7 separate regions of the Homo sapiens genome follow, and all the other regions are linked to region 1. Evidence: promoter capture Hi-C in 16 types of primary human blood cells and fetal thymus (Javierre and others, 2016). All regions are on one chromosome and are shown on one strand. The core of a region is centred on a gene start or on the middle of the fragment in contact, and the rest is flanking DNA. Distances in the headings are between cores, read along the strand shown. Region 1 holds the start of IL20RB-AS1 (IL20RB antisense RNA 1). Region 2 overlaps MSL2 (MSL complex subunit 2). Region 3 has its middle 4.0 kb from the start of MSL2. Region 4 has its middle 11 kb from the start of PCCB. Region 5 overlaps PCCB (propionyl-CoA carboxylase subunit beta). Region 6 overlaps PCCB (propionyl-CoA carboxylase subunit beta). Region 7 overlaps STAG1 (STAG1 cohesin complex component).

What was found. Contacts are between HindIII fragments. The CHiCAGO score rates a contact against its expected background, and 5 or more counts as called.
Region 2: a fragment that was not itself captured here is called in contact with the fragment with the promoter of IL20RB-AS1 in region 1 in 1 of 17 cell types (fetal thymus); the score reaches 5.4 in fetal thymus.
Region 3: a contact is called between a fragment that was not itself captured here and the fragment with the promoter of IL20RB-AS1 in region 1, in 1 of 17 cell types (fetal thymus). The highest score is 8.2, in fetal thymus.
Region 4: a contact is called between a fragment that was not itself captured here and the fragment with the promoter of IL20RB-AS1 in region 1, in 5 of 17 cell types (non-activated CD4 T cells, fetal thymus, naive B cells and 2 more). The highest score is 7.8, in non-activated CD4 T cells.
Region 5: a fragment that was not itself captured here is called in contact with the fragment with the promoter of IL20RB-AS1 in region 1 in 1 of 17 cell types (monocytes); the score reaches 5.1 in monocytes.
Region 6: a contact is called between a fragment that was not itself captured here and the fragment with the promoter of IL20RB-AS1 in region 1, in 4 of 17 cell types (neutrophils, naive CD8 T cells, activated CD4 T cells and 1 more). The highest score is 7.8, in neutrophils.
Region 7: a contact is called between a fragment that was not itself captured here and the fragment with the promoter of IL20RB-AS1 in region 1, in 11 of 17 cell types (naive CD8 T cells, naive B cells, non-activated CD4 T cells and 8 more). The highest score is 9.3, in naive CD8 T cells.

What each region holds. Positions count from the first base shown.
Region 1 is chr3:136,980,553-136,983,628 of GRCh38, reverse strand. IL20RB-AS1 (IL20RB antisense RNA 1) reads left to right here and starts at 1,438. Exons shown (of 4, transcript NR_183729.1): 1 at 1,438-1,566. IL20RB (interleukin 20 receptor subunit beta) reads right to left here. Exons shown (of 7, transcript NM_144717.4): 2 at 3,037-3,076; 3 at 1,279-1,469. The HindIII fragment of the contact is 2,087 bases long and covers 599-2,685 here.
Region 2 is chr3:136,173,910-136,176,985 of GRCh38, reverse strand. The region is part of intron 1 of MSL2 (MSL complex subunit 2); the gene reads left to right. Among named protein-coding and RNA genes, the nearest start is that of MSL2, 21 kb to the left of the region's middle. The HindIII fragment of the contact is 2,920 bases long and covers 209-3,076 here.
Region 3 is chr3:136,198,829-136,201,904 of GRCh38, reverse strand. No RefSeq gene overlaps it. Among named protein-coding and RNA genes, the nearest start is that of MSL2, 4.0 kb to the right of the region's middle. The HindIII fragment of the contact is 6,162 bases long and covers 1-3,076 here.
Region 4 is chr3:136,237,729-136,240,804 of GRCh38, reverse strand. No RefSeq gene overlaps it. Among named protein-coding and RNA genes, the nearest start is that of PCCB, 11 kb to the left of the region's middle. The HindIII fragment of the contact is 2,133 bases long and covers 475-2,607 here.
Region 5 is chr3:136,257,035-136,260,110 of GRCh38, reverse strand. All of the region lies in intron 3 of PCCB (propionyl-CoA carboxylase subunit beta), which reads right to left. Among named protein-coding and RNA genes, the nearest start is that of PCCB, 8.2 kb to the right of the region's middle. The HindIII fragment of the contact is 486 bases long and covers 1,201-1,686 here.
Region 6 is chr3:136,323,845-136,326,920 of GRCh38, reverse strand. It overlaps PCCB (propionyl-CoA carboxylase subunit beta), which reads right to left. Exons shown (of 15, transcript NM_000532.5): 11 at 11-118. Among named protein-coding and RNA genes, the nearest start is that of PCCB, 75 kb to the right of the region's middle. The HindIII fragment of the contact is 3,211 bases long and covers 1-2,935 here.
Region 7 is chr3:136,340,581-136,343,656 of GRCh38, reverse strand. It overlaps STAG1 (STAG1 cohesin complex component), which reads left to right. Exons shown (of 34, transcript NM_005862.3): 31 at 2,106-2,216; 32 at 3,052-3,076. Among named protein-coding and RNA genes, the nearest start is that of PCCB, 92 kb to the right of the region's middle. The HindIII fragment of the contact is 9,398 bases long and covers 1-3,076 here.

The DNA.
Region 1 (3,076 bases), core at 189-2,688:
TGAATACTATCATTATCTCTCCCTTTTCTGTCCCCACAAACTTGATTCCTAAGCTCTGTCCTTTCTAAATCAGCCATGTTTCTTGGATTCATCATCTCCTTCCCATCCCCTTCCAAACTCTTGGGATCAGTAGGAGTATTACAACCCCCTCCTCACTCTTCCCCTGTCCTGCAGGCTTGCCCTACTCTGGTTCACTTTCCACACAGCAGCCAGAGTGTTGCTTTGTAAGATAGACCTGGTCGGCCGGGCGCCATGGCTCATGCCTGTAATCCCAGCACTTTGGGAGGCCGAAGTGGGCAGATGACTTGAGGTCAGGAGTTCCAGACCAGCCTGGAAAACATAGTGAAACCCTGTCTCTACTAAAAATACAAAAATTAGCCAGGCATGGTGGTGCACGCCTGTAGTCCCAGCTACTCAGGAGGCTGAGGCAGGAGAATCACTTGAACCCAGGAGACAGAGGTTGCAGTGAGCTGAGATCACGCCACTGCACACCAACCTGGGTGACAGAGTGAGACTCCGTATCAAAAAAAAAAAGAGATAGACCTGGTCTAGATCCTCTCCTCTTTCATTGGCTACCCTCTACTGACTTGGTCAAGCTTCGTGTCAAAGCCCTTCACCACATGATCAACTGCTTCCCTACCCCCTGCCCATCAGCCCTTGCCTCTCCTGTTCCGCAAACACACATGTCCTTTTATACAATGACCAGTGCTTGTACTCAGCCACATTTGGCCACCTATCTGGATTCCTCTATTACTTCTTTCTCAATCCTTTTCCAGGTACTACTCCAAAAGAAAAGTTATTTATTTCCCACAGAAGTCATTACAGAAGGGCAATTTTCTGGTGGCTCTGTTAAGTGTATAAATCCTCTTGCACAACAAAGCTGCTTACGTGGGCAGTAAATATGCAGTTAATGAGGCCTCAAGTGGGAGGCACAATTTATGGAGGCACAATCAGAGTAGGGAGCAGCAGTCCTGGTGCCACCTCTTCACTTCCAGAGCAGCTTTCCTTCCAGGTTCCCAATGTCAGCATCCCCAACACCTGCACACCCTGACACAGACAGTCAGGAATGACTTGAGTAGTCAAAGGGCATGACAGAGAGCAGCATGTAGAAAGCAGTTGGCAATTTTTCAAATATACCAGTAAGGGTTGTTTGTGTTCACAATACTCTGGCTTTGCAGGACTATTCTGATGCTAAAAAGAGTCTAGAAAGTTTAGGTGAACATGGTTCCTAAAGGAGGGGCTGGTTGGGGTGGGAGTGTAAGGAGAGAAGTGCCTTACTTGAGTTTCTATTAAAGGGATGCTTCAGGATGCTCCAGGCTGAGGTCTGTGAGCCCAATGTGGCCCTGACACGAAGGTTGTATGGCACAGTGGCCGTGATGTCATCAGTGACATCACACTCAGGACCTTCAGTGAGTGAGCACCAGCTGCTGGGGATCCAGATGTGGCTCGTGTACAGGCTCTCGTACTCCCTGTCAAAGAGAGGAGGGCACAGAGTTACACCAGCCCCTCTGACACAGGCTCAGTTATGGTTGCAAGTAACTGACTTCGTTCACCTACTTTGTACAGGTAAGTAAAATAAGTACTTTCTCATTATCCTAGCTCCTCCACTCTCCTCCCTACCAACCATCCATCGTCCCTTACTCCTTTTATTGCCAGATAGGGAAAGCTAGGCATAAACATCAATGTGTCTGGATCTCTTTTATCTCTTCATCTCCAGGGTCATCACCCTAATCTCAGCCACTGTCATTCCTTGCCTTGCTGTGATCTCCCAGCTTGGACACCTGCCATTCTCAAAACCATTCACCACTCAGCAGATTGTGACGTTTCTCTCCTTAATGGCTTCCTACAGGACTTAGAATGGGATCCAAACTCTTGCCAGTGGTCTTACAAGATGCTTTGGCCTTCTCTCTCACTCTGCTCCGAAGCGTGATATTCTTGCCACATTGGTCATTTCTCCAAAATGCTGAGCACTTTTTGCCTTAGGACCTTTGACTAACTGTTCACTCCATCTCAAACGCTCTGCCCCTGCTGTTCGCATGGCTGGCTCCTCTTGTCCTTCAGATATGGCATAAATATCACCTCCTCAGAGAGGCCATCCCAGGCCATCTAATATAAAGGAGCCTCAGTGTCAACTCTCTATGGCATCAGCCTTTTAGCTTCCTCCTAGCACTGATTACTATCCAAAATTCCCTAGAGCAGTGCTTTCCAAAAATAAACTTTCTGTGATGATGCAAATATTCTAAATCGATGTTGTTCAATATGGTAACCACTGGCCACATGTGGCTATTGAACACCTAAAATGTGACTAGTGTGGCAGGAAACAGACATTTTAATTTAATTTAATTTAATTTAATTTAATTTAAATTTAAATAGCCAGCTGTGGCTGGTGGCTACCATACTAGAGAATGCTGGCCTAGTATATTTATCATCTGTATCCTCCTCTAGATGTAAGCTCTCAAAATCCAGAAACCTTGTCAACTGTATCCCTGAGCCTAGAAGAATGTCTACACATGTAGGTGTTCAGTCTGTATTCATTGTTAATGAAATATATGGAGCAATTTCTGTGTCCTTATCACTATTCAATAGCTGCAAGCACCTGAACACCTGGAGAAGACTAGAGCCTGCTCAGCCCCAGGGCCAGCTGACCTTTAGGATTATAGTTCGTTTTGGCTCTAGGTATAAGCTTATAGTCAGGAAAAGTGAGGACTCCTCCACCCTTAAAGGATCTGAGTCTCCAGTGATTTATCCATCTCAAGTCAGAGTCAAACCCATTGGACAGTTGATTCACTTTTTAAAATAACTCCACCAAAATGTGTTATGCACATTCATCTTCCCAGAGAGTTCACTGTCAAATCCACAGAACAATTTCCCTTGCTTCTTCAACTCTTTCAATGCCTATGCAGACAGAGGGGGTAGATCTTTGGGGATAATCTATCCCTGGACTCAAAAAGCCACCTTGGGCTCAGGAGGAAGGGCTATGCCTTCAGGAACCAACTTCTGCTTAAGGGAGAAGAACTATTAAAAGAAAAAACTCACCCCTGGTATTCGACAGAATAGTACACTGTTTCTCCAGGCG
Region 2 (3,076 bases), core at 419-2,918, 810 kb after region 1:
GGAGAGTTCTCTGGTCTCAAGTTCATTTCTCTTTGACCTGAGCTTGTTATCTTTTATAGCAATGTGTAAGTCCGTTTGTGTTGCTGTTAAGGAATACCTGAGGCTGGGTAATTTATAAAGAAAAGATATTTATTTTGGTTCACGGTTCTGCAGGCTGTACAGGGAGTATGGTGCCAGCATCTGCTTCTGGTGAGGGTCTCAAGAAGCTTCCAATCATGGCAGAAGGCTAAAGGGGAGCAGGCCTATCACATGGCGAAAGAAGGAGCAAGAGAGAGAAGGGTGTGTGCCACCACACCTGGTTAATTTTTAAATTTTTTTTTTTTTGTAGTAACAGGGTCTCACTCAGTTGCCCAGGCTGGTCTTAGATTCATGGGCTCAAGTGATTCTCCTGCCTCAGCCTCCCAATGCTGAGATGATAGGCATGAACCACTGTGCCCAGCCGAAAAGTTTTTTTTTTTTTTTTTTTTTTTGAGAGAGGGTCTCATTCTGGTTGCCCAGGCTGGAGTGCAGTGACACGATCTTGGCTCAATACAGCTTCAACCTCCTGGGCTTAGGTGATTGTTCCACCTCACCCTCCCGAGTAGCTGGGATTGCAGGTGCATGCCCCCATGTCCTGCTAATTTTTTGTATTTTTAGTAGAGACGGGGTTTTGCTGTGTTGCCCAGGCTGGTCTTGAACTCCTGGACTCAAGCAATCCACCTGCCGTGGCTTCCCATAGTGCTGGGATTACAGGCATGAGCCACCACACCCAGCCGGCCACTGAAAAGTTTTAAAAGAAGTTTAGACTTTAAAATATGCCTGCACACAACTATATTGGGCAAAGAATATAGTTTTACTTGTCCAAGAACTGTTGATTAATTTGCACCAATTTGGAAATGATAAATACTAACTTTTTATGGTATAGTCGTTTTTGTTTGGCTGAATCCAGAGATTATTTCCTTGTATATGTATCTAGAATATGTCCTACTAGTTATTGTTTGGAAACATACTCGACATCTTTAATTTTGGAGTTTAATTTTGGTGCTATAATTCAGAGATTTAAAAAAGGTTTGAGAATGCCTTGCTAAGTGATGGCAGGCTTAGCACAGTGGCAGGCTTAGCACAGTGTTTGGCATATAGCTGGGTCCCAGGAATTATTTACATATGTAATGGAGGAAGGAGAAATGTTTTATTCAATGAACATAGGCTAAACAATTCACTCTTCATTTGGAAAAGGTGAAAAATGGGGAAATTTAGATAAATTGATTATGAAACGGTTATTGTTCCGGCCCTATCTCAGACTTGTTGTTGTTGTTGTTTTTTGAGATGGGGCCTCTGTCACGCAGGCTAGGGTGCAGTGATCCGATCATGGCTCACTTGCAGCCTCGAACTCCTGGACTCTAATGATCCTCCCACTTCAGCCTCCTTAGTAGCTGGGACCACAGGCATGTGCCACCATGTCTGGCTAATTTTGTTTATTTTTCGTAGAGGCAGGGTTTCACTATGCTGCTTAGGCTGGTCTCGAACTCCTGGGCTTGAGTGATCCTCCTGCCCCAGCCTCCCAAAATGCTGGTATTGTAAGTGTGAGCCACTGCACCTGGCCTATCTCAGACTTTTGACATCAGTGAGAGAAGTGTATTCTCCCACTTTTTTTTTTTTTTTTGAGACGGAGTCTTGCTCTGTCGCCCAGGCTGGAGTGCAGTGGCGCGATCTCGGCTCACTGCAACCTCCGCCTCCTGGGTTGAAGTGATTCTCCTGCCTCAGCCTCCTGAATAGCTGAGATTACAGGTGTGCGCCACCACGTCTGGCTACTTTTTGTATTTTTAGTAGAGATGGGGTTTCACCATGTTGGTCAGGCTGGTATCGAACTCCTGACCTCGTGATCCACCTGCCTCGGCCTCCCAAAGTGCTGGGATTATAGGCGTGAGCCACCATGCCCAGCCATGACTCAAATTCAGCATAGTTACTCTCATACCACAAGAGAAATAGAGTGTACGTGTTTATTTGGGTTGATCAGCATCGGTTTATTGCTATTACATTCCCAGAAAATTTTATAAATGAATGAAAACCAGCTTAGTCTAATCATGAGTTTAGTATATATGTATTTACTTATTTTAAACATATATATTACACATGAATACATTATGCATACACATTTAATATACATATACATATTAAGGTTTCTGATGCTGTAAATTTTAGACTGGTATATAGGCCGATCTTTGTTTTTTGTTGGAATCTCTTTTACACAGAAGATGGTACAAATGCTTTATAGCATATATGTCCACTTGAAGCATTTAAGGCTAACTTTAAAAATTGAAGTTAGTGTGTAGAGAATTTAGGCAGGGCTCTTGCTGGTCCAGTTTTTGTGCAGTAAGGATTTCCTGACCCTCACAAACCTGTTATTGAGAATCCATCCTCCCCTTCCTTTTGCTCTTCCTGCCTCAGTCACTATCCATTATTGCCAGTACCTGTTCCTATTTCTTCTTTCCAATAAAAGGTTGTATATCTTGTGGCTAATTATTCTGCCTATTGCTCAGTTTCTGTAATCATTTTTGGGAAGGGGCAAGAAGCTAAAATTGTCTCTGTGTATGCCATGGACTGTTTTAATAGAAGTACAGATAGTGCTGGATAAGTGAAAATAATTCTAGGCTGGGAATCAGTAGACTGAGCCTCTATTTTTCATTGCTAGTACCCAGTTATGTAATCCATGAAAGTCCATCTTGGTTAAAATGAGGTCACAGAACAAGTGATTACCAAGGTCACTCCCAGATTTAATGTTCTTTTTATGATTAATTCATTTTACATTTATTAGGTGCTGGCTTATGTGCCAACACTAGTTTAAAGATTTAGAGATAAATAAGTTTCTGGCCTTGAGTGAGACCCAGTGAACAATGACAATATAATGTGATTAAGTGCTGTAATAGGAGAATGTGTAAAGTGCTTTTTCAACAGATTGAGGGAGGTTAATTAAGAAAGGCTTCCTCTTGGAGGTCATATTTGAATTGATTTTTGAAGAAGAATTGACCATGCAAGGCAGGAAGAAGGACATTCTAGGAACAGCAAATCATGGAGGATGAGTAAGCATTGCATGTTT
Region 3 (3,076 bases), core at 159-2,658, 780 kb after region 1:
GCTAATGTATGCTGGGCTTAAGACCTAGGTGATGGGTTGATAGGTGCAGCAAACCACCATGGCACACGTTTACCTACGTAACAAACCTGCAGATCCTGCACATGTACCCCAGAACTAAACATAAAAGAATAAAAATAAAAAGAAATTTGAGTTATAGGCCAGGCACTGTGGCTCATGCCTGTAATCCCAGCACTGTGGGGGGCTGAGGCTGGAGTCAGATCCCTTTAGCTTAGGCCACATGGTTAGACTCCCGTCTCTACAAAAAATACAAAAAAAAAAAAAAAATTAGCCGGGCATGGTGGTATGTGCCTGTAGTTCCGGCTACTCAGGAGGCTGAAGTGGGAGGATTGCTTGAGCCCAGGAGGCTGAGGACACAGTAAGCACTGCACTCCAGCCTAGGTGAGACTATCTCAAAAAAAAAAAAAAGGAATTTGAGTTATATATGATTTTTCCTAAATAATTAAAGCACTTTTAATGTTTTTTTTTTAAAAAGAATCAAACTGCATTTATTTCAGAGGTTTTTTATTTAGGAAAAATATACATATATAATTTACCACCTTTACCATTGTTTTCAACTTTTTATTTATTTATTTTTTGAGAGGGAGTCTGGCTGTGTAGCCTAGGCTGGAGTAGCTGGGATCACAGGAATGTGTCATCACACCTGGCTAATTTTTTTTTTCTTTTTTTTGAGACGGAGTCTCACTCTGTCGCCCAGGCTGGAGTGCAGTGGGGCAATCTCTGCTTACTGCAAGCTCTGCCTCCTGGGTTCACGCCATTCTCCTGCCTCAGTCTCCCGAGTAGCTGGGACTACAGGCACCCGCCACCGTGCTGGGCTAATTTTTTGTATTTTTAGTAGAGATGGGGTTTCACCGTGGTCTTGATCTCCTGACCTTGTGATCCACCTGCCTCGTCCCCCCAAAGTGCTGGGATTACAGGCGTGAGCCACTGCGCCTGGCCACACCTGGCTAATTTTTGTATTTTTAGTAGAGACGGAGTTTCACTATGTTGGCCAGGTTGGAGTGCAGTGTTGCAATCTCGGCTCACTGCAACCTCTGCCTCTTGGGTTCAAGTGATTCTCCTGCCTCAGCCTCCCCAGTAGCTGGGACTGCAGGCATGCGCCATCATGCCTTGCTAATTTTTTGTATTACTATTAGAGATGGGGTTTCGCCATGTTGGCCAGGCTGGTTTTGAACTCCTGACCTCGAATGATTCCCCCGCCTCTGCCTCCCAAAGTGCTGGGATTCCCCTGCCTCTGCCTCCCAAATTTCTGGGATTACAGGTGTGAGCCACCGTGCCCAACCCTGGTAGGTTTGGACTTTCACCCTCCTGTCATCCTTCCCCAGAAAGTAGGCTCTAGTGTCTACTGTTCCCATCTTTATGTCCATGTGTACTCAATGTTTAGCTCCCACTTATAAATGAGAACATGCAGCATTTGGTTTTCTGTTCCTGTGTTAATTCAGATAATGGCCTCCAGTTGCATCCATGTTGCTGCAAAGGACATTTTTTTTTTTTGAGACAGAGTTTCCCTCTTGTTGCCCAGGCTGGAGTGCAATGGTGTGATCTTGGCTCACTGCAACCTCCACCTCTCATGTTCAAGCAATTGTCCTCCCTCAGCCTCCCGAGTAGCTGGGATTACAGGCATGCACCACTGCGTCCAGCTAATTTTGTATTTTTATTTATTTTTATTATTTATTTATTTATTTATTATTATTATTATTATTTTTGAGATGGAGTTTAGCTCTTGTTGCCCAGGCTGGAGTGCAATGGCATGATCTCGGCTCACCGCAACCTCTGCCTCCCAAGTTCAAGCGATTCTCCTGCCTCAGCCTCCCGAGTAGCTGGGATTACAGGCATGCACCACCATGCCCGGCTAATTTTGTATTTTTAGTAGAGACGGGGTTTCTCCATGTTGGTCAGGCTGGTCAAACTCCCGATCTCAGGTAATCCGCCCACCTCGGCCTCCCAAAGTGCTGGGATTATAAGTGTGAGACACGGCGCCCGGCCAATTTTGTATTTTTAGTAGAGACGGGGTTTCTCCATGTTGGTCAGGCTGGTCTCGAACTCCCAACCTCAGGTGATCCGCCCACCTCAGCCTCCCAAAGTGCTGGGATTACAGGTGTGAGCCACAGTGCCCGGCCAGGACATAATTTTTTTATGGCTGTATAGTATTCCATGGTGTATATGTACCACATTTTCTTTATTCAGCCCATTGTCAGTGGGCATTTAGTTTGATTCCATTTCTTTGCTATGTAAATAGTGCTGTGATGAGCAAATGAGTGCATGTCTTTTTGGTAGAACGATTTATATTCCTTTGGGTATATACCCAGTAATGAGATTGCTGGGTCAAATGGTAGTTCTAAGTTCTTTGAGAATTCTCCAAACTGCTTTCCACAGTGGCTGAACTAATTTACAGTGCTACCAGCAGTGTATAAACATTCCCTTGTCTCTGGAACATCCCCAACATCTGTTATTTTTTGACTTAATAACTGCCATTCTGACTGTGTGGTGAGATGGTATATCACTGTGGTTTGGATTTGGATTTCTCTGATGATTAGTGATGTTGAGCATTTTTTTCTTTTTTCTTTTCTTTCTTTTTTTTTTTTGAGACAGATTCTTGCTCTGTCACCAGGCTGGAGTGCAGCGGTGCGATCTCGGCTCACTGAAACCTCCGCCTCTGGGGTTCAAGCGATTCTCCTGCTTCAGCCTCCCGAGTAGCTGAAGGCACGTGCTACCACGCCTGGCTATTTTTTTTTTTTTTTGTATTTTTTAGTAGAGAAAGGGTTTCACCTTGTTAGCCAGGATGGTCTGGATCTCCTGACCTTGTGATCTGCCCACCTCAGCCTCCCAAAGTGATGGGATTACAGGCGTGAGCCATCACGCCCGGCCAAGCATTTTTTTCATACATTCATTGGCTGCTTGTATGTCTCTTTTTTTTTTTTTTTTTTTTTTTTGGCACTTGCTCTGTCGCCCATGCTAGAGTGCAGTGGCTCGATCTCGGCTCGCTGCAACCTTTGCCTCCCAGGTTCAAGCAATTCTCTTGCCTCAGCCTCTGGAGTAGCTGGGATTACAGGCACCT
Region 4 (3,076 bases), core at 292-2,791, 740 kb after region 1:
AGCTCCAGTCTTGTCTTCTGAATATACTGACTCTAACACCGTGAGGATGCCCTTTCCTATTTCAACCAAAACAGCCTTAGTGATTCTCTCCCTTCTGGATACTGATACTGGGTTACAGGTAAGTCAAAGTGCAGCCAGGATACAAGAAATACTCTTTCTTTTTCCTTTATTCTCCATCCTCGCTTTTCCTATCCCTCTTCCAGCTGCTTAGAAAATTCTAAGGCAAGAGTCATGGCACTAGATTAAGAAATGTTTGTTTTAATTAGTGGCCTCTCTTCTTCTTTTTCTTTTATAATTCCTCCTGCATTTCTAAAAGACTATATGAGTTATGATACTTTCACAATTATTTTTATTATAATGGGTGATTTTGAGCTTTTGGTATGAATTATGCTGTTCTAAAGCAATTGAGGTTAACATCTAGAAACTGGAAACAAATTAGCTATTCATATATGACTCCCCATGAGATTATAAGCTTATTTTGGATAAGGACTCTATCATTTTTATTTCTGTGTTTCCAGTACCCAGTGGTTCCAGATACATGGGGTATTCAGTCATTGAAAGAACTTTCTCTCTTGCTACTCTAGTTTCTCTGTGAAGAGGGGATTATCTGACGCTCAGCTCCATTACTAGAGCCAGCTTCTTTCCCATGAACCATGGGAAACCTATCTAGTTTCCTACGGGTGGTGTTGACATTTAAGATATACTCACTGGGGAACATCAAAAGTAATAAAGATTGCCACCACACCCAGCCCTTTGCATTCTTTTGACCATGTCTTTTAATACACAAACTTTTAAATAAAATAGGTTTTATCTTCCTACCTGACATATGTATTTTCAAGGCTGGGTGCGGTGGCTCATGCCTGTTATTCCAGCACTTTCGGAGGCAGACGGATCATTTGAGATCAGGTGTTCAAGACCAGCCTAGCCAACACGGTGAAACTCCGTCTCTACTAAAAGTACAAAAATTAACTGGGCATGGTGGTACGCGCCTGTAATCCCAGCTACTCAGAAGGCTGAGGCAGAATGGCTTGAGCTGGGAGGTAGAGATTGCAGTGAGCCAAGATTACGCCACTGCACTCCAACCTGGGAGACAGAGCAAGACTCCGTCTCAAAAAAAAAAAAAAAAGTAATAAAGATCATTACTTTTTATTAGGATATGGTTCTTCCCATCCAACTCGCTCAAAATTTCAACCCTATGATTGATGTAAGTGTGATCCTGAGTGAATGAGAGAAAGAGGGAAGGTTGGGAAGAAGCATTCTTAGACTGCAGTGCAGTCTAAGGAAAGTCAGCAAGAGAACTAAATGAAGCGGTGCCACCACTGTACCTTCTGCAGTTACCCTTAGTTTGTTGTTTTGGAAAGACAGACAGAAGCAGGGGAGGGAAGGAAAAGAAAAAGTGAAAAGAAAAACAATATTGTTTGAAGGCTTAGAAAACAGCTGCAACAACAGAACTTTCCTTATAACCCCTTTTGTATGTAAGAAAGGATTAAGTAAATATTGATGCATTCCTCACTTCCAGAACAATTTATAGGCTAGAAAGGGCGCTGGAGAGGATTGCCCTCATTATGAGCTAGTGAAGGGTTTCTGGTAGGATGGAAAGCATGCTTTGGTGCTGTAAAACTGGATTCCAAATGATACTAACAAGCAGTGTAACTAGGCAAATCAGTTCATCTCTTTCAGCTACAGTTTTTTCACTTATAAAATCATGATAATAATATTGACCCTATAGAATAGTTGGAGGGATTAAATTAAGTGAGAAAACATATGTAGAGTACACGGTATGCAATAGATGTTTAATAAGTAAAAATCCCGGCAGGGCGCAGTGGCTCACGCCTGTAATCCTAGCACTTTGGGAGGCCAAGGCGGGTGGATTGCCTGAGCTCAGGAGTTCGAGACCAGCCTGGGCAATATGGTGAAACCCTATCTCTACTAAAATAAAAATAAAAATAAAAATAAAAAACTAGCTGGGAGTGGTGGCATATGCCTGTAGTCCCAGCTACTCGGGAGGCTGAGGCAGGAGAATTGCTTGAACCCGGGAGGCGGAGGTTGCAGTGGGCTGAGATGGTGCCACTGCACTCCAGCCTGGCAACAGAACAAGACTCCGTCTCAAAAAAAAAAAAAAAAAAGTGATAATCCCACTCTAGTTTGGAAAGAGAATCCAGAATAGATGGGAAAGACAATGTACATGAGAACTGATCCTGGATACCTAAAGAAGAAAATGAATTATTGGAAGGAAGGAATTATCAAGGGGGATAGAAAAGAGTCAAAAAGCAAGATAATCTAGAAGCAGAAAAACACAGCTAAGCTCATGCCACAAGAACAGTGGACATTGACCTAGATACCACTATTGACAGACCTTGCTGTGACTGCTTCTGGATTTGCAAGGCCACTGTGAATAGTTTTCATACTATTGCGTATCTTTGCATAGTGGGCTCCCCCACTTATAATATTGAGTGGGAACATCAAATTGGCAGAGACTGAGTAACATGCTCACACCCCAGCATGAGAAAGATCTTAGAAAAGGACAAATGATCTCTATATTGCTTAAAATAATGCTAGCAACTGTAACAAACCCCAAGGTTTAAGTTACTTAACATAATAGAAGCTTGTTGTTTACCCTGACATTCTAGTGTAGCTATTCTTCCACACGGTGGGCAGCTTTCCCCCTTGCGGTGATTTAAGGACCCAGGCTTCTTCTGTCTTGTGGGTTCATCATCCCTAGATTTGTCTGTATTCAACTGGAGAATGGGGAAGAAGACAAGTGGAAGGGAAGCCCTGTTTATTAAAGACCCCACCTCCACCTGGACGCAAGGGCAAGGATGACAATGTACTCCCTGGCTGGCCAGCCACTTTCCAGTAGCAACTCCACACAGCAGAAGAAGGATTACAAATTTTTAGTTGACAGTTATCTATGTATGCCACACCCTCTACTGGGCCAATGTATATGGGAAAAAGTATGAAGTGGGGCAAGGTACTGAGGATTAAAGGACCCTGGGAAAGTGGAGAACGGTTTTGAGTAGTTGATTTGGGGAATGGGAAAAGAGATAGTACACTGGGAAGTTTAAGTGGAAAATAT
Region 5 (3,076 bases), core at 194-2,693, 720 kb after region 1:
CAGAGCAAGACCCTGTCTCAAAACAAAACAAAACAAAACAAAACAAAACAAAAAAAGTTGCCCGGGCATGGTGGCTCGCACCTGTAATCCCAAGACTTTGAGAGGCCAAGGCAGGAGGATCACTTGAGGTCAAGAGTTCCAGACCACCCTGGCCAACATGGTGAAACCCCATCTCTACTAAAATATAAAAATTAGCTGGGCGTGGTGGTGTGTGCCTGTAATCCCAGCTACTCGGGAGGCTGAGGCAGGAGAATCACTTGAATCCAAGAGGCGGAGGCTGCAGTGGGCAGAGATTGCTCCAGTGCACTCCAGCCTGGGCGACAGAGCGAGACTCTGTATTTAAAAAAATACATACATATAGTTTTTAAAGCATTTTCAGAAGTTTAAAAAATTAGAAAAGAAGTCTGATTTATAGATTATTCCATAGAATAAAATATCTTAAAGGAAGTTCATGAATTGTCAAGAGCAAAAGAGCTAGTCTTTGCTCTACAAAAATGATTTGAAAGGAAAAAAAAGAAATGATTTGCAGTTCTGAAGGAAAACCTATCACACAGAATTAACTCTAATATCAGATTCTATGGATATCAAACAGTCAAGCACTTCTGTTTTTAAGAAATATTTACTGTTTTATTTTACTTATCATTTTGAGACCAAGTCTTGCTCTGTCACCCAGGCTGGAGTGCAGTGGCGTAATCTTGGCTCACTGTATCCTCCGCCTCCCAGGTTCAAGTGATTCTCCTGCCTCAGCCTCCCGAGTAGCTGGGATTACAGGCACGTGCCACCAGGCCCAGCTAATTTTTGTATTTTTATTAGAGACAGTTTTGCCATGTTGGCTAGGCCAGTTTCAAACTCCTGGCCTCAAGTGATCTACCCACCTCGGCCTCCCAAAGTGCTGAGATGACAAGCGGGAGCCACTGTGCCCAGCCTATTATTTGCTGTTTTAAAAAGAAAGGTTAAAAAACAAGAATCAGAGCTCTCACTGCTTCTTCTGCTTATGGATCTTCATTATGTTCAGATGTAAAGGGCTTATTGTGGGCATAACCTCTCCTAAAACCCCCTCAAAAAGACAGTTAGGAATTAAGAACAGAATCAGCTGTGAGAATAAGAACAAGGAGACAATAGCATAGGAAGGATTAAACAAATTTGGGGGGAACTGAAAGCACAAGAAAATACCTGATTTAGAGGGAGAGAATGGAAGCTTACACACCTGCAGTGGGGGTAATCAAGGAGAAGACAACCCAGGAACCATGGAAAGTGGAGGTGAGAAGGAGGCTGAAAACAGAGACTAACAGAAGTCTCTGTTAGAAGCAGTCAGACCCCACAGGGCCTCTCCTTCACCTTGAGAGGACAGAGAATGTTTGTTCTCTAAAGGAAATTAACCAGAAGGGTTCTAAACTCACAATCGCTAGCCTAAAAGAGGAAAAGGTGAGGCTGAAAACATGCAAGATTAGGAGCCTATACACTGAATGAGTGCTGGCCCCTTTTTTTCTCTCCCCCTCAGAATACACCAACAGCCAATTATCAGGCAAGGGACTGAGGAGGCTCCCCAGAAGAACAGAAGCTCCCCAGAAAAAGCACCTAAGATATTAACATCTTGGAGATCACTATTAAAAAACACTAGCTCATCACTCCCTACCCTCAGTATCCTTCAGGGCCTGTCTCAATTGCCCCATTGTTCCTAAAGCTTTCCTCAACCCTGGATGTGATTTTCCCTTGTCTTGGGTCTACAGCATTTGCCTGGAACCTCTCACTCCATGTGCTCTGTAGTTACATCCGTTCTGTGCCATTCTGCCTATAAAATGATTCGCTTCTTCAGGGTGGGAACTCTTGTCTCAGTCATCTCCACCTTCTCCTCACTCCCACCCTACCACATGAGCATAAGAGGTGGTCAAAAGTATCAATTCAGTGAATTCTTCCATCTGCTTAATAGTGGTGAGTGAACATCATGTCCAGAAAACATCTTTGTTCTATCTCTCTTTTCAATGGTTCCTTCTGTACAAGTTTTTCTCAGCTCTCATAAATTGCACAAAACAAATGTGATTCCTTCTATTTCGGCATTTGGTAGACCAATTTATAACAGTTTTAAAACATTTCAAAGGTAATTTAATTGGTAAATGCATACTAACTACGACAGATTTTAAATTAACCAAGTATAACTATTTTATTATTTTTTTGTTTGAGATGGAGTCTCACTCTGCCACCCAGGCTCGAGTGCAGTGGCGCAAACTCGGCTCACTGCAACCTCCGCCTCCCAGGTTCAAGCGATTCTCCTGCCTCAGCCTCCCAAGTAGCTGGGATTACAGGCACCCACAACACCCAGCTAATTTTTGTGTTTTTAGTAGAGATGGAGTTTCGCCATGTTGGCCAGCTGGTCTCAAACTCCTGACCTCAGGTGATCCACCCATCTCAGCCTCCCAAAGTACTGGGACTACAGGCATGAGCCACCACGCCTAGCCAATTTTAATATCAAACTTTAGGTCTGTAAAAAGACCTAAGCATTTTAAATTATATACATATTTCCACCTCTGGAGAGAAAAAAGTCAAATCCAAAATAGTACACAACATATTCTGTGTTAGTTTTCTATTACCGCTATAACAAATTAATATAAATTCAGTGCCTTGAAACAACACAAATGTATTATCTTATAGTTCTATAATTTAGAAGCGCTACACAGGATTGACTGGGCTAAAATTAAGGTTGGCAGGACTGTGCTCCCTTCTGGAGGCTCCAGGGGAAAATGTGTTTTCTTGCCTTTACCAGCTCCTAGAGACCATGGGCACTCCTTTGCTGATGGTCCCCTTCTCCCATCTTCAAAGCCAGGTACTGCAGATCATGTCCTTCTCATATCACATCCTTATAAGCTCCTCTTCTACCTCCCTCTTCCACTTTTAAGGACCCTGTGATTATATTGGGCCCACCTGGATAAATCAGGCTACTCTCCCTATTGCAAGGCCAGCTGATTAACAACCTTCATTCCCTTTTGCGTGTAAAATAACATATTGATAGCTTTGGCTATGTGTGTGAACAAACTGTATCTGTCTTGATGCACCCTGATAAAATTTTCTGAACATATTC
Region 6 (3,076 bases), core at 81-2,580, 660 kb after region 1:
AAAAACTTACCAGGTAGAAAGCCAGGGACATCAACAAAAGTGATGAGTGGAATATTGAATGCATCACAGAATCTGACAAAACGAGCCCCTTTCACAGATGAATTAATATCCAAGCATCCTAGAAAGAGAGAGATTATCCATACTGAGTATCCAGGCAATTCCCAGTTCTATCCACAATGGGGATTTGTCCTCAGCAGCCATCCAAAGCTGGTTTCTGTGGAGGCACCAACACTTCTTTGTTGCAGAATGGTAACAAGGACCCCTCAAACTCCAGGAAACAGGGAAGATGAAGAATCCACCTGTCTGTCACTGGCCAAAGAGGCCCAGAACTAGACTACTACAGACTCACTACAGACCAAAGGGCTGCCGCCAGCTGAGACACAGCCGGCCTTGCCGCAGGGAGCCATCAGTGGGAGGCAGCATTCAAGGGCTGGTCTTAGAGAGTCCTCAGAGCTTCCAATCAGATTCTGGCTCCACTGATGATGGCAACGTGCCCTTGAGAAATTACTTTGCCTTTTGACCTAAGGTTCCTTACCTGCAAAGTAGGGACGATACTGCCTCCTAGCATAGTTCCAAGGAGTAAAGGAAATGGAATCTATAAAGCAGCACAGAGTAGGAGCTCAATTACTAGTAAATCTCCCCTCCTAGAAGAGTTTCCAACTTAATTCTATGAGACCAGTATTACCCCAATACCAAAGCAAGACAAGGACCATCATCAGAAAAGAATACAGACCAAAAACATAAATGAAAAATTTTTACTTTTTAAGTAAGGCACATTATCAAGTCCAGCAATATATACAAAAACAGTAGGCCAGGCGCGGTGGCTCATGACCGTAATCCCAGCACTTTGGGAGGCCGAGGCGGGCAGATCACGAGGTCAAGAGATCGAGACCATCCTGGCTGACAAGGTGAAACCCTGTCTCTACTAAAAATACAAAAATTAGCCGGGTGTGGTGGCGGGTACCTGTAGTCCCAGCTACTTGGGAGGCTGAGGCAGGAGAATGGTGTGAACCCGGGAGGCGGAGCTTGCAGTGAGCTGAAATCATGCCACTGCACTCCAGCCCGGGTGACAGAGCAACACTCCATCTCAAAAAAACAGTAATACATCATGTCCAAGTGGGGTTTATCCCAAGAATTCAAGGTTGATTTCAGCATGTGAAAACTAATGAAATTATTAAATAAAGGAAAAAAACTATATGAACATCTCAATAGATGTAGAGAAAATACCTGAAAAAATTTAATATCCATTCATGAATAAAAACATGGCCCGGCACAGTGGCTCACACCTGTAATCCCAGCACTTTGGGAGGTCGGGCAGGCAGACCACTTGAGGTCAGGAGTTCAAGACCAGCCTGGCCAACATGGTGAAACCTCATCTCTACTAAAAAATACAAAAATTAGCCAGGCGTGGTTGCAGGCACCTGTACTCCCAGCTACTCAGAAGGCTTGAGGAAGGAGAATCACTTGAACCCAGGAGGCAGAGGTTGCAGTGAGCCAAGATTGCACCACCACTCTAGGCAACAGAGTGAGACTCCATCTCAAATAAAAAAAAAAGGAAAGGAAAGGAAATAAATAGGCAAGTCACAAGCCAGGCCCTAGAAATCAACAATAAAAAGACAATGTAGTCCCAGCTACTCAGGAGGCCAAAGTGGAGGACTGCTTAAGCCCAGGAGTTTGAGACCTGCCTGGGCAACATAGTGACACTCTGTCTCTAAAAGAACAAAAAAAAATGGCCAGATGTGGTGGCTCACACCTGTAATCCCATCATTTTGGGAGGCCAAGGTGGGCGGATCACCTGAGGTCAGGAGTTCAAGACCAGCCTGGCCAAAATGGCAAAACCCTGTCTCTACTAAAAATACAAAAATTAGCCGAGCGTGGTGCACACCTGTAATCCCATCTACCTCAGAGGCTGAGGCAGGAGAATTGCTTGAACCTGGGAGAAGGAGGTTGCAGTGAGCCAAGATCATGCCACTGCACTCCAGACTAGGTGACAGAGTGAGACTCTGTCTCAAAAAAATAAAAGAAAATGGTATGAAAGCTCTGTGCCTTTTTAATTACACTTGTCCCATTTCCTCCCTGGTTCTGGAGGAAGCAGAGCAGACCTCATTCACAAATTTCCGCATATGTCTGCTCTAACCTGTCTGTGGGCTGCCTGAAGGACTGACACAAGGAACACATCTCTGTTTCACCTAACTCAGAACTTATCCAGGCTGGAAATGTAGCAGGCATTTCTTTAAATCATGGTAAGGTAGAGGAACAACCTGCAGATGTCTGGGCAAAAGATTACTGTTGAAACCACCTAAGATATGGGAGAAAAAAAAAACAGAGAGTGTCTTTAGGAAATTAGTGCATTCAAAAGCACCCGTGAATAGGGAGAATTCAGAAAGACACATGTATGCCTAGGATGAGATACACGATCAGAAAAGATCTGAGAGGGGAAATAAGAAAAGAAGTTGAATGAAAATGAAAACACTATTACAAAATAAAAGACCAGAGAAAACCTTAAACTTTAACCTTGAGCTGATCTCAAACCTTAGTTCAAGTTTGGCTAAGCATCAAAGGAGAGCCCCAACACAGAGACAATTTCAAGACCAGGAGTTTTCTTGTTTGTTGTTTCTTGGTTTTAGTTCCTGGTGTTCAAGAAAATTTCTGTCAAATATACAAGTTAAGAAACAGGCTGGGCATGGTGGCTCACACCTGTAATCCTAACACTGTGGGAGGCTACTTTGGGAGAATCTCTTAAGGACAGGAGTTCAAGACCAGCCCAGGCAACAGAGCAAGACCCTGTCTCAAAAGAAAGAAAGAAACAATAAGAAGAAACAGGGACTTCAGTGACCACAAATGACAAAAAATATAGTCTCTGGAAAAGTCATTGCAAAAAGACACTAGGCAAACATATATGACATTAAATATCAAAAAAAAAAAAAACAAAGCTTGGGAAAAGAGGAAAATTTGACTGCCAGCGTTACCACATTATAATGTATAAATACCCCATTTTCAATTAAAAAAATCACAAGGTATAAAATGAAGAAACTATCCCTAAGTAAGCATAGACACTGAACTTACTAGAAAAAGA
Region 7 (3,076 bases), core at 577-3,076, 640 kb after region 1:
GATACCAGTTCCTGGAAGTTTACAGACCTTTAAATGTACGGTGTCTCACCAGGTGCTAATTTCAGTTGGCATGTGCATTTTCATTGGGCAGGTCTGTTTCTTCTCAGGGACTTACCAAGAAATGCAGGTTACTTCCTAGGCAAGAAAACCTGTAAGAGCCTATATTAAGTTGTCAGTAGTCTGGACACCAAATAAATAGACTGTATTTAGCTTTATCATCCATTTAATTAATATTTTGTCTTGTTACATTTTAAACTCAAACTTCTCATGGATTAAGAATTTTTAAGATCTTACTTGATAAATTCTGAGAATAGTTGCCCTCAAAGAGAAAATCAAGGTCTTACCTTTCCTCCATGCTAGTAATTAAAATGTTTTCTAGTACACAGACCTCTGAAAATTGTAGAGAAGGCAGAGGGTGATGGCGTGTTTTGCTTATAAAAATCTTATTGTTGTTTTCCATCCAACTTTGAAATTCTTTGAGCTCCTCACTTGTGTTTCTGTGTATAGTTGGGTAATGCTGTGAATTACTCTGATGGATAAGAGGGAGAACTCTCATTTGAACTCAACAAATTTAGTTAGGTTGAAAATAGAGACAGTGTTAGAAGTATCAAATCCTGGGTTTTCATGATCCCTTTGCTCTAAGGGATCAGCCTTCAAACCCAAGAGGATACTCACTGTCACCCATGGTATAACTGGGCATTCTTGTGCTGCCAAGTATCCTAGAAGGTGGTTTGCCTTATGGCAAGCATCCGAAGATGGGTGACCTAACCAATATCCCCACCCCTCTTCCTACAGGGTGGGTTTCTCCTTGTTTTAGCAGCCTGCCTTGCCCCTCTGACCCTACCATTTGTCATTCCCTGTGGCCATGGTCTGCCTTCTTTTCCCTGCTCCAGGTTTATAGGTTTAATCAAGGTGGTGGCCCCACATGATATAAAGACAGCTACTTAGAGACAACTTCATGTGACAGTTTGTATTGGCTAAAAAACCACTAAAGTTTACATCCTATAAATGTATGGGTATGGTGGCACACGCCTGTGATCCCAACTATTCAGGAGGCTAAGGAATGAGAATTGCTTGAACTCGGGAGGCAGAGGTTGCAGTGAGCCAAAATCGCGCCACTGCACTCCAGCCTGGGTGACACAGACTCTGTCTCAACACCACCACCACAAAATTAGCCAGGTGTGGTGGCGCATGCCTGTGATCCCAGCTACTCGGAAGGCTGAGGTGAGAGCAGCACTGGAGCCTGGGAGGCAGAGGTTGTAGTGAGCTGAGATCATGCCACTGCACTCCAGCCTGGGTGACAAGAGTGAGAACCTGTCTTAAAAAAAAAAAATTCCTGGCTGGGCGCGGTGGCTCATGCCTGTAATCCCAGCACTTTGGGAGGCCGAGGCAAGTGGATCACAAGGTCAGGAGATCGAGACCATCCTAACTAACATGGTGAAACCCCATGTCTACTAAAAATACAAAAAATTAGCTGGGTGTGGTGGTGCACGCCTGTAGTCCCAGCTACTCGGGAGGCTGAGACAGAAGAATCCCTTGAACCAGGGAGGCGGAGGTTGCAGTGAGCCAAGATTGTGCCACTGCACTCCAGCCTGGATGACAGAGCAAGACTCCATCTCAAAAAAAAAAAAAAATTCCTTAGAGGCATGTTTACACACACTTCCATGTGCCAATAAGTTTAGAGTACAAGTGCAGATTTGACTCCATAAAGACTGAGGAAAAGATGCTATATTCTTCCTTGTTGAATTCTGGAGAACTTTCAGCTGCCAAGCCAACATAATTTCTGTTAGTTGGGGATCTGCTGTCCAGCTAGGTACACCTGTGAGTGCGGCACCAGCCCAAAACAGAGGTCTGAGAACCCTTGTTTGGCAGAGATTTGGTTGATAGTTTAAGCATCTAACAATTAGCCTCAGCCAGCTTCTCTTGGAGACTTACAGATATCTTTGGGCAACTTATTGCCTTTTTTATAAAAAGGCACCAGAATAAATCCAGCTAATTCCTCCAACATGGGATTAAGTAAACCTACCTTGGCTTTCTTAGCTTGGGGCTCATTAGCTAAATTCATCATCTGCTGCTACAAAATTAATAATAGTACCCTCTCTTAGTCCTCAGATGCAGATCTCTTGGTTAGGCCAGCCGAAGTTAGAAGACTTAAATCGGAAGGACAGAACAGGAATGAACTACATGAAAGTGAGAACTGGAGTGAGGCATGCTGTGTAAGTGTTACATGGAGTATCACAAGAACATAACAACTATGTGATGCCCATCATTTTGTGAAATGACTTGGGTTTCTTTGATGTTTGGTCTTAGGAGTTAAAATTATAATTCGTGATATGCTATGCAGCATAGGAAAGGAGGGTGTGAGTTCTTAACACTTTCAGCATTTAAATCCTAGCTCTGCCACTTGGCAGCTGCATGGCCTTGGACAAGCTCTAAAACATCTGTGCTGGCTAGGCGCGGTGGCTCCGCCTGTAATCCCAGCACTTTGGGAGGCCGAGGCGGGCGGATCACTTGAGGTCAGGAGTTCAAGACCAGCCTGGCCAACATCGTGAAACCCCGTCTCTACTAAAAATACAAAAAATTAGCCGGGCATGGTGGTGGGCGCCTATAATCCCAGCTACTCAGGAGGGTGAGGCAGGAGAATCGCTTAAATCCAGGAGGCGGAGGTTGTAGTGAGTCAAGATCACGCCACTGCACTCCAGCCTGAGCGACAGAGCAAGACGCCGTCTCAAAAAAATCTGTGCTTCAGGTTCCTCATTTGTAAAATTGGGATAATACTACCAATAAGATTTTTAGGGTAATTGACACATAAATAAATGTTAACAACCGTTATTATTGAATTGTACTTCCTTTTGATATGTGAGATGAAATCTTGAATGAACCAAAGGAATGATTCTTAATTGTCTTGGAATTCAGTCTAATTTGTGTAGTCTGTAGGTCATGATTAGAAGGTATACTTCACTTGGTTAGAATAACTTTAATCTGAGAAACAGCCAGGACTCCAAATGGTGGAGTCTGATGAGCTTTCTGACAATACCTTTTTCTTACCAGTCGGGGTCTAATGGAGGAAGATGCT